Linked DNA regions of Homo sapiens: region 2 is linked to region 1. Evidence: promoter capture Hi-C in 16 types of primary human blood cells and fetal thymus (Javierre and others, 2016). All regions are on one chromosome and are shown on one strand. Each heading gives the region's core, a stretch centred on a gene start or on the middle of the fragment in contact. The rest is flanking DNA. Distances are from core to core; before and after follow the strand shown.

Region 1 (5,582 bases), core at 1,432-3,931:
CTGGCACCCGGCCCCAAGGAGCAGAGAGATGTTTTTTGTTTGTTTGTTTGAGACGGAGTTTTGCTCTTGTTGCCCAGGCTGGAGTGCAATGGCGCGATCTCGGCTCACCGGAACCTCCGTCTCCTGGGTTCAAGCGATTCTCCTGCCTCAGCCTCCCAAAGTGCTGGGATTACAGGCATGCGCCACCACGCCTGGCTAATTTTGTATTTTTTTAGAAGAGACAGGGTTTCTCCATGTTGGTCAGGCTGGTCTCAAACTCCCGACCTCAGGTGATCTGCCCACCTCAGCCTCCCAAAGTGCTGGGATTACAGGTGTGAGCCACAGCGCTCGGCCTGAGATGTTTTTAAAACAGATATTATTGGCTGCGAATCAATGAGAAAACTGTGTGATGGAAGTCTCAGGATCCCAAGCTAAATGTTAAGTCAGTAATTCCACTTGGGAGGAACCCCAGCATGGGCCTGGCACCAGGCAGGAAACAGTGATGAAATAAAAGCTTTCTGTATCCCAGCCGGGCGTGGTGGCTCACGCCTGTAATCCCAGCGCTTTGGGAGGCCGAGGTGGGTGGATCACGAGGTCAGGAGTTCGAGACCAGCTTGGCCAACATGGTGAAACCCCGTCTCTACTAAAAATACAATATGCTGGGCGTGGTGGCGCGTGCCCGTAATCCCAGCTACTCGGGAGGCTGAGGCAGGAGAATCGCTTGAACCTGGGAGGCGGAGGTTGCAGTGAGCCAAGATGGCGCCATTGCACTCCAGTCTGGGTGGCAGAGCAAGACTCTGTCTCCGGCGGTTGGTGGGGAGTAAAGTTTTCTGTATCCATACTGTCCTCTAGGTTACAAAAGACTAGAGCAGGCCGGGAGTGGTGGCTCATGCCTGTAATCCCAGAACTTTCGGAGGCTGAGGCAGGAGGAATGCTTGAACCCAGGACTTTGAGACCAGCCCGAGCAACATAGTGAGACCCTGTCTCTATTTTTAAACAAATAATAATAAATAAAATAGATACTTTTTTAGAAAAAGACCAGAGCAGGCATCCACAAGACTCCTTGAAGGGAGGCCAGGGCTCAGCAAGGCCTTTGGGGAGAAGCCGTGCCCCTCACCTCGCCACGCCCTGGCAGAAAGGCAGGCACACACACCACACTCACCCAGACATGCAAACACCTGCACGCTCAAATACTGCCCCCAGGCTGCTTCATCCCACGGCTGTGCTGTCCCCTCGGGCCAGCGTCTGGCGCCTGAACAGCCACGGACAAGGCGTTCTCTTTTTTTTTTTTTTCTTTTTTTAGAATTTCAGGAGGATTCTTATTCTCACTCCTCAGCTTCATGGGGTGGAAGGGGAAAAGAGGGGCTTTCTTCCTCAAAGAGTCCAGTGAAGATTGTCCAACATGCTGGAGATGGCAATCGGCAGAGAGCAGGTGGCCCTGTCAAGAGGGACGCCGACAGTCCTGGGACTGGACAGAACCTCCGCTGCTGCCCAAAAAGCCAGCATTCAGGATTCATGTCCTCGGGTCTTGAAGACCTTCCTGATACCCAGTGTGGCCAACCTAGAAATTTGGAGGGTCAAGGACAGGGCATCGTGGCCCCAACCCCTATTATGCAGGTGGGTAACTAAGGAAAAGGGGCTGGTCGGGCTGCTCCACCACTGGACTCCAGCCAGACAGTACCCTGGGGCCAGGCTACATCCCTGCCTGTCTAGACAGGGGCTGGGATTGGGAAGTTGGGGTCCCCAGGGGCCAGCCTGTTCCTGGGGTGACTGTGCTTCCAGGAGAGGCCCACCCAGCCTGGCTGGCAAAGCCCTCCCACGTGCAGCTGCTAGCCCGGAGAGGTGAGTCACTGTCCCTGAGCCCTTTACAGAAGCTCTTGGGAAAGCCACAGACCTCAGGCCGGCCCAGCCCCCAGCCTCTAATGGCATGTCCTTACCGGCCCCTGGGGACCCTGCCCTGCCCTACCCCTAGCACTCAGCAAGCACCCAGCATGGGGACCCAGAACTGAAACAGGGACCTGGGAGCAACAGGGCAGCCCCTCACCCAGGGCAGGCTCTGCAGCATGACACACCCACCTCTGAGGCCCCCTCCTCCCCCGCAGACCTGCTCCGTGGACAGCTGCGGGTCCTCCACGCAGGGAACTGCCCTCCCTACCCCACATCTGGCCCTGGCTAGTCCACCCCAACTCTGGGTCCCGGCGTGGAGGTCAAAGGTCAGCGAGGGGAGGGAGGATGCTAAGGCCCCACAGGTGGAGCGGGACATCACGCCCACGACCGAGCTCCAGGCTCCACCCGCCGGTGGGTGGCTTCCTTATGGCTTCCTTACCGTGGCGTCCTCAGCGCCGTGGTGGCCGATGAGGCGGCTGCCCCCTGGGTGCCGCTGTGCCCAGCGGCTGATGTCGTAGACGCGGCGCTCGATGACCAGCCACTTGTCGCCGGGCTGGTCGTGCGCGCGGATCTGCTCCCAGCAGAAGGTGGGCAGCGGCGCCCCCGGCTGCGCGGGTCCCTCCCGCGGTCCCGGCTCCCCGACGCCGCCCATGCTGCACGCACGAGTCCTGGGGATCCCAGGCGGTGGCCGAGGTCCGAGCAAGACCCCGAGGGAAGCGAAGAGCGCTCCCGGGCGCCGCCTCCGCCGCCGCCCGCTGCTCCGGCCCCGCCCTGCCGCCGCGGCCGCCGTACGAGCGAGCGTGCGCCTCCCGGCTCGCGGCGCAGGGAACTCCCCGCCTTATAACCGCGCGGACGGCGCCCGCCTCGCCTCGCCTGCCCCCCCGCCCCCGGCCAGGCCCCGGCCCCCAAGGCTGGCTGACCCCCCGCGTCCGCTCCAATCCAGGCGCGGGGCCTCGGTCTCCATTGGCCGCCAGGGAGGGCGGCGTCGAGGCGGCCCGCCCCTCCCGGGAGGACAGCGGCCGCCACCCAGCCCTGCCCCGGGGCACCGTCCCGCCCCCTTTTCCCGGGCTGCCGGCTTCCAGGTTCTTGACTCCACCCGGAGCGCGGGGCCTGGGGACACAACACGCACCTGTTGGGCGTCCCGCAGCGCCTCGCCACGCCCTCGGGAACCGGAGGCGGAGTCCCGGTCTGTGAGCAGCGGGGCCTGGGGGGCTTCCAGCCGCGCGTCCTGCAACGTCAAATCCAGTGCGCCCAGAGGGGGGACGCTGTCTCGGGGTGCCTGTGAACAGCCTTCAAACCATGGGCCCCAATCTCTGCGGGGCCCCCACCGCCGCTGCAGCTCTCTCGGAGCCCTCTGCTGGGGGCGGGTGGCCTCCCCTCCGCCCTCGGCGCTGCAGGGCTGGGGATGCCCAGGGGTGGCCAAGGGGGAGGTAGGGGAGCAGGAGGGCACTGGCGCGTGGAGGCGGGCGCTGCCATCCATGGGCTGAGGACACCTGTGCTTGTTACTGCTTCCCCGCCCCTCTTTTTTGTTTTGAGACAGGAGTCTCACTCTGTCGCCCAGGCTGCAGTGTAGTGGCATGATGTCGGCTCACTGCAGCCTCAACATCCTAAGCTCAGGAGATACCCCCACCTCAGTCTCGGGAGTCCCCAGCTGGGACTACAGGCGCGCCCCATCATACCCGGCTAATTTTTGGTGTTATTTTATTTTTGTAGAAATGGGTCTTGCCATGTTGCCCAGGCTGGTCTTGAACTCCTGGACTCAAGTGACCCTCCCGCCTCCCAAAATGCTGGGATTACAGGCATGAGCCACTGCACCCGGGCCCCATCCGCTTTTTTTAATTTAAATACATTCAAGTCCTTTTGAAAGTGTAGGTAGCTCCCCTAATTGCTTCGGATTTCTTTGTGATAAATATACCTGTTCCTAAAAGTTAAGCGTTCACAGCAGCAAGGAATTCAAATCAGGCTAAAGTTACTTCCAGAGCGCTGGTCGTCAATCTTCCATCAGAACCACCTGAAAGGCTTCCATCAGAACCACCCAGGAGGGTTATTCGGTGGGTCTGGTGTGGAGGCAGAGACTTACATGGCCAGTTCACAGGTGATGCTGACCGGCTGGTTGGGGAAATGCACTTAGAAAACCCTAAGTATATTTCTCTGATATGCTAATATTTTGTCTTGGTCTAAAGAGGACCAGTATCCCCAGAAGGGCAGAGGGGGCGAGTTCTCCCTGGTACCAGGAGCTCCTGCCTTTGCTTGTCAGGACATCCAGCAAGGCCCATGATGTCATCAGGCACCGGGGCTGCCTGGGCCCTCTCCACTGAGGCACCCACTGACCATATCCTGGAACCCCAACCTGGCACATGTGTGTGGGGGTGCAAGAGCATGGCTGGTGGCCCTGGCCCAAGGGGGCTGCAGGCACCCCTACCCCGTACCATGTTCACACAGCACAGGAATGGAGAAGGCAGATTCTTGAAGGAATGCATCCCCTGCACCAAAATCCACTGAAGGCATGGACCTGGCCCTGGCCCCACCTTCAGCAGCCCTGAGTGGTCAGATGTGGCCATCCTAGGGGCTTCTTCCTTGGAGCCAGCCCTGGCCTGGTCTCAGCCCCTGTGTGTGAGGTGGTTGGGGGTTGTGATAGGTTAGAACCTCCACTTTCCCCAGCTGCCCCCAGAAGAGATGGGGAAGATGAAGGGGGGGCCACAGAATCATGCAAGAGCCGTGAGTGAGGGCAGGGATCACAGCCCTATTGGCCAAGTCCTCCTCGAAGGGATCACTGTGGAGGCCAGGCGGAGCTCCTCAGAATGCTCCTCAGGAAAGAGGGGCTGCACACAAATGGGCAACACACACACGAAAAGGTGCTCAGCATTGCTAATCATCAGAGAGCTGCAAATGAAACCACAATGAAATACTGTCTCACACTTGTTAGGAGGGCTCCTATAAAAAAGAAAAAGGCCTGGAATCCCACCACTTTGGGAGGCCGAGGCAGGAGGATTGCTTGAGCCCTGGAGTTCAAGACCAGCCTCGGCAACATAGCAGGAACCCCGTCTTTAATAAATAAATACATAAATGAAAAAATCATGCCAGGCATGGTGGTTCACGCCTGTAATCCCAGCACTTTGGGAGGATCTCTTGAGCCTAGGGGTTCGAGACCAGCCTGGGCAACATGACAAAACCCTATTTCTACAAAAAAAAAAAAAAAAAAACTAGCAGGGCATGGTGGTGCGTGCGCCTGTAGTCCCAGCTACTTAGGAGGCTGAGGTAGGAGGATCGCTTGAGCCTGGGAAGCAGAGGTTGTAGTGCCCCAAGATCATGCCATTGTACTCCAGCCTGGGCTACAGAGGGAGACCTGGTCTCAAAAAATCAAATCACACGTGTTGGCAATGATGCAGAACCCTTGTGCATTGTGGGTAAGAATGTGAAGTGCTATAGCCAACTATAGAAAAGAGTATGAAAATGGCTTTAAAATGCCTATGATTCAGCAATTCCATTTCTGGGCATATACCCAAAAGAACCGAAAGCAGAGTCTTGAGGAGATATTTGTACATCTATTTTCTTAGCAGCATTATTCACAATGGCCAAGAGGTCATTGTGAGGCAGCACAACTGTCCATCCACAGACACTGGATAAACAAAACGTGGTCAGGCCAGGCGCGGTGGCTCACACCTGTAATCCCAGCACTTTGGGAGGCTGAGGCGGGCGGATCACCTGAGATCAGG
Region 2 (5,621 bases), core at 2,398-4,897, 190 kb after region 1:
TTAGGGCTTCCAATAAACCTGTAATATTTTAGGTGTACCGCTGAGTCATAAATATCAGCTAAGTCTGTTGTATCATCACCTGTACTTCTTTTTGCGCATCTTAAAATACCATTTAAAATAACGAAAAAAATCTACAACTTAGCTCTAGAGTATCATGCCTCCAAAAGACACTGGGTTTAATTTTTAGATGTTTTCCCTTTTTCGTTGGAGGTAAAAATAAAATTCAGGATTATGTTTTTCAGACCTATGTTTGTTTTCATACTTGTAAAACCTACATATGTATCCATAAACACACAGAGTATTGATTTGTGTTTCAATTTTAAAAAATTGATGTCACACTGTACCATTCTGAAGGTCTTTTTTGTTTGTTTGTTTGTTTTTTGAGATGGAGTCTCGCTCTGTTACCCAGGCTGGCGTGCAGTGGCGTGATCTTGGCTTACCGCAACCTCTGCCTCCCAGGTTCAAGCGATTCTCCTTCCTCAGCCTCCTGAGTAGCTGGGACTACAGGTGCGTGCCACCACATCTGGCGAATTTTTGTATTTTTAGTAGAAATGGGGTTTCACCATGTTGGCCCTGGCTGGTCTTGAACTCCCAACCTCAAGTAATCTGCCCACCTTGGCCTCCCAAAGTTCTGAGATGATAGGCACGAGCCACCACACCTGGCCATATCTTGCTTTTATTGATCAACATTGTGTTTAAGAATTATTCATGTTGGTACATATATTTCTAGTTGATTCACGTTTACCGCTGAAAAATTCCTCGTATAACTATGCACGTATATATATGTGTGTGTGTGTGTGTGTATCTATATATATATATATATATTTTTTTTTTTTTTTGAGACACAGGTTGTACTGTTGCCCAGGCTGGAATGCAATGGCACAATCTCTGCTCACTGCAACCTCCACCTCCCAGGTTCAAGCGATTCTCCTGCCTCAGCCTCCCGAGTAGCTGGGATTACAGGTGCCTGCCACCATGCCTGGCTAATTTTTTGTATTTTTACTAGAGATGGGGTTTCGCCATCTCTCACTTAACTAAGGTGATCTGCCCGTCGAAGTGCTGGGATTACAGGGGTGAGCCACTGCGCCTGGACTTTTTTTTTTAAATTCATTAAAATAATAGAAAAATAGAGACAGGGTCTTTGTGTTGCCCAGGCTGGTCTCAAATAGCTGAGCTCAAGCAGTCCTCCAGCCTTGGCCTCCCAAAGTGCTGGGATTACAGGTGTGAGCCACTGTGCCTGGTCTTTATGATATCTTTTTGTATTCCAAAGTCATAAGATAGTCATTTAATTTTGAAAATTATTTTAAAAATTTGCTTTTTACATTTAGATGCTTAAATCCCCTTGATTTTATTTATGTAGTTGGTGCAAGGTGAATGCTTCTTTATCTGTATGGGTGACTTTCTCTTGGGCAGGGTACACATTTAAAAGCTCCGAGGAAGCTTTTAAAAGACCATTTCTGGGCCTCATCACAGAACAGATGAAATCAAAATTTCTGAGTGTGGACCTGAGACATCAGATTTAAAAAATAAAAACAAAACTCTCCCAGGCGTTTTTTAACATGGAGCCAGGGCTGAGAATCTTTGCTTTAAGGTCAGACCAAGAGTAGAGTTGCTGGGGTGTGTATTATTCGCATTGTCAGCTATACTGGATGTTGCTGGTGCTCTCTAAAGTGATTAAACTAGGCCGGGCGCAGTGGCTCACGCCTGTAATGCCTGCACTTTGGGAGGCCAAGATAAGCAGATCACCTGGGGTCTGGAGTTTGAGACCAGCCTGGCCAACATGGTGAAACCCCGTCTCTACTAAAAATACAAAAATTAGCCAGGCGTGGTGGCAGGCGCCTGTAATCCCAGTTACTTGGGAGGCTGAGGCACGAGAATTGCTTGAACTTGGGAGGCAGAGGTTGCAGTGAGTAGAGATTGCACTGTTGCACTCCAGCCTGGGCAACAAAGCGAGACTCTGTCTAAAATAAATAAATAAATAAATAAATAAAATAAAGTGATTAAACTATTTATGGTCCTCAAGTAGGAGAATTTCAATTGCTTCACACTTTTGAAAATACATGTTGTGATATTTATATAAAACCAAGAACCATGGATGAAAAAACATATATGTGTGTCTCATATATGTATGCATTTCATATACATATGTGTTATAAACATATATATGTCTTTCATATATATATATATAAAATGTTTTCACCCATGATTCTTGGCTTATAACTCCCATAGCTCTTGTTATTACAGTTTCTGTTATAATGTTAGGGCACTTTAGTTCTCACAAGCAGGCTTCAGGAAACAGAATCTCTCTCTCTCTCTCTGACCTTCTCCTGCCCACCTTTTACCTGCTCCTTTTTTCTCCCCACCTTTTACCTGCTTCTTTTCCTATCTTTCTGTCTAGGAGCTGGTCATGAGGAAATTCTCTGGCCTACTTTGATTGTAGGTCACAATACCCTCATTTCAGACAGGTCCTGCCCTATTCCCTGGAAGGAATGCTGCACAGAGAGACCAAGAAGAATCTGATCAGATGGGCCTTGTTGGGTTTCCCCATTCAGCCTGTTAGTGTTAGATCGTACCCAATCATATTTATTTTATTTATTTATTTATTTATTTATTTATTTATTTATTTATTTTTTGAGATGGAGTCTCACTCTGTCACCTAGGCTGGAGTGCAGTGACGTGATCTCGGCTCACTGCAACCTCCGCCTCCCGGGTTCAAGCAATTCTCCTGCCTCAGCCTCCCAGGTAGCTGGGATTACAGGCTCCCACTACCATGCCTGGCTAATTTTTGTATTTTTAGTAGAGACGGGGTTTCACCATATTGGCCAGGCTGATCTCGAACTCCTGACCTCGTGATCCGCCCGCCTTGGCCTCGCAAAGTGTTGGGATTACAGGCGTGAGCCATCATGCCTGGCAATAAATTATTTCTTCAAATATTGTGGGGATACAACTGCAGAGATCTCAGATTTCAACGTGTTTTTGTCCAATGCTTATACCATTCAGGTTATAACCATTTCAGAAAAGGTCTGTATAATTCTGGCAATTCATGTATGGCCTTGTAGTGTTAGGTTTTTAGGTGTATATGTGGGATATGTGTGGTTTAGGAAAAAAGCCTTGCAACTTTACAAAGCACTGGACATACACTAGCTAGCCTTCTCTTCACTCCTGTCATTACTGATCTGTTTTCCCCATTTTAGTAAATGGTCAAGATTTACCCCTAGAGAAAGAGTCAGCTTGTGGCCAAATTCATGTTTGATAGATCTTCTCAGCTCTAAAACTGAAAGGGAGAAACTTCAGACAGCAGAAAGAGAAAACAAACAAGCAGGGTGGGTGAAATAATTTCCTATGGTTGTTGAAACAAATTACCACAAATTTCGTGGTTTAAAACAACACAAGGCTGGGCTCAGTGGTGCATGCCTGTAATCCCAGCACTTTGGGGGGCCGAGGTGAGAAAATTGCTTGAGCTCAGGAGTTTGAGACCAGCCTGGCAACACAGTGAGACCTTGTCTCTAAAAAATAAAGAAAGAAAGAAGAAAAAGAAAAAAATTCCAAAAACCAAAACCACCCCACACATTTATTATCTTATAGTTCTGGGGTCAGAGGTCCAAAATGGGTCTTTATGAGCTAAAAACCAAGGTGTTATCAGGCCTGCATCCCTTCTTTTTATTTTATTTAATTCTTTTTTTTTTTTTTGGTAGGGATGCAGTCTCACTCTAATGCCCAGGCTGGTCTTGAATTCCTGGGCTCAAGCAATTCACCCATCTCGGCCTCCCAAAGTGCTGGGATTGTAGGCATGAGGAACTGTGCCTGGCCTTACTTTTGGGTTTTTGAGGAAAAGTGTGGTTTAGACACTTGGAAATGTCTTTGTCGAAAAAAAATGTTTTTTAAGTGTACAGTAAAAGCATCACATGGTCTAACCTCATAATAATTCTCCCTTTTTGGAGACCCAAGATTCAACGTGGGCTTTCCCAGAGCTCAGAGATCCAGTTAAAAGATAAGTAGGCCCTATCTAAATAAAATTGATCCCCTTATACAATCCTATGATAGATTTCTATAATTTTATGTTCAATTTGGCATCCATCTTTAATCTTCCTCTAGCACCACCAGACTTTTACTCTCTGTACCTTATGATGTAAATTTTTCTATTTGATTTTCAGCTGAGTTCTTTCCTTTAATATGCACATTTAAGGCTATTTAACTGACAACTGCCTAGTGTTGTGAAACAGGTTATCAAGTATCTGAAAGTCTAAGATAGGAAAAAAAAAAAAAGGTGTGTTTATTAAGTCTATAAGATGTAATTCTTTTTTTTTTTTTTTTTTTTTTTTTTGAGATGGAGTCTCGCACTGTCCACTGGCCTGGAGTGCAGTGGCGCAATCATGGCTTACTACAACCTCCGCTCCCAGCTTCAAACGATTCTCCTGCCTCAGCCTCCCAAGTAGCTGGGATTACAGGTGCCCGCCACCACACCCAGATAATTTTTTTTATTTTTAGTAGAGACAGGGTTCCACTATGTTGGCCAGACTGGTCTCAAACTCCTGACCTCGTGATCTGCCCACCTCAGCCTCCCAAAGTGCTGGGATTACAAGCATGAGCCACTGCGCCTGGCCTTTTTTTTTTTTTTTTTTTTTTGAGACAGAGTCTCTCTCTGTTGCCCAGGCTGGAATGCAGTGGCACGATCTTGGCTCACTGCAACCTCCATCCCCCAGGTTCAAACAGTTCTCCTGCCTCAGCCTCCTGAGTAGCTGGGATTACAAGAGCCCACAACCATGCCCGGCTAATTTTTTGTATTTTTAGTAGAGGTGGGGTTTCACCATGTTGGTCAGGCTGGTCTCAAGCTCCTGATCTCAGGTGATCCACCCATGTTAGCCTCCCAAAGTGCTGGGATTATAGGCGTGAGCCACTGCACCCAACCTATAAGATGTATTTCTATTGGCATTCCTAATACATCTATGTATTTATGTGTTGTATACACAATGTTTCACTACCAAAAATATATAAAAGAGGTCTAATTAATTGGCTTAAAGAAAAATAAAAGCATTGAAATAAAATACTTTATCAGAAAAAGGAAAAACTAGTCAAATTATTTTTCAAGTTTACATGACTTAAGTAAAATCTTTAATAAGTAAGCTAGCTTTAAAATTATTGGTAAAATAATATTAGAAATGTCTTAAGAATTTCCAGCATACATTTTATTTGCATTTATTAATCTAGCAATTTCATACTTATCCTAGCCAAATACTATAAGGTGTCAAAATTTGGCACAGGGGTTACAAAACCATAAACCCAGCCCAAAACAGAATGATTCTTGCTTGCCGATCTTTAATAAACAAGACATTGATATTGTTTAACAAAAATAGCTACATCTGGAATTACTTAGTAAAATTACCATAACTTCTAATCTTGTGGCTTTAGGCAGTCTAGTCTACAGGCAGTAAGGAGGTTTGTTTTGGGAAAGGACTGCTATTGTCTTTGTTTCAATGCTAAACTATAAATTAAGTTCCTCCCAAAATTCAGGAATGAACAAGGACAGCTTGGAGGTTAGAAGCAAGATGGAGTCAGTTAGGTCATATCTTTTTCATTGTCTCAGTTAGAATTTTGCAGTGGCAAGTTTCATAGCTTTAAAT

Evidence for each region. The method cuts DNA at HindIII sites, captures the fragments that hold promoters and counts their contacts. A CHiCAGO score of 5 or more calls a contact.
Region 2: a contact is called between a fragment that was not itself captured here and the fragment with the promoter of FADS3 in region 1, in 17 of 17 cell types (neutrophils, erythroblasts, naive CD8 T cells and 14 more). The highest score is 23.2, in neutrophils.

The regions. Positions count from the first base shown.
Region 1 is chr11:61,888,864-61,894,445 of GRCh38, forward strand. It overlaps FADS3 (fatty acid desaturase 3), which reads right to left and starts at 2,682. Exons shown (of 12, transcript NM_021727.5): 1 at 2,306-2,682. The coding sequence starts at 2,518. RefSeq lists enhancers at 1,013-1,702, 1,703-2,391, 1,981-2,150 and silencers at 2,351-2,480, 2,581-3,390. The HindIII fragment of the contact is 11,072 bases long and covers 492-5,582 here.
Region 2 is chr11:62,082,393-62,088,013 of GRCh38, forward strand. No RefSeq gene overlaps it. Among named protein-coding and RNA genes, the nearest start is that of LINC02733, 2.9 kb to the left of the region's middle. The HindIII fragment of the contact is 4,419 bases long and covers 1,439-5,621 here.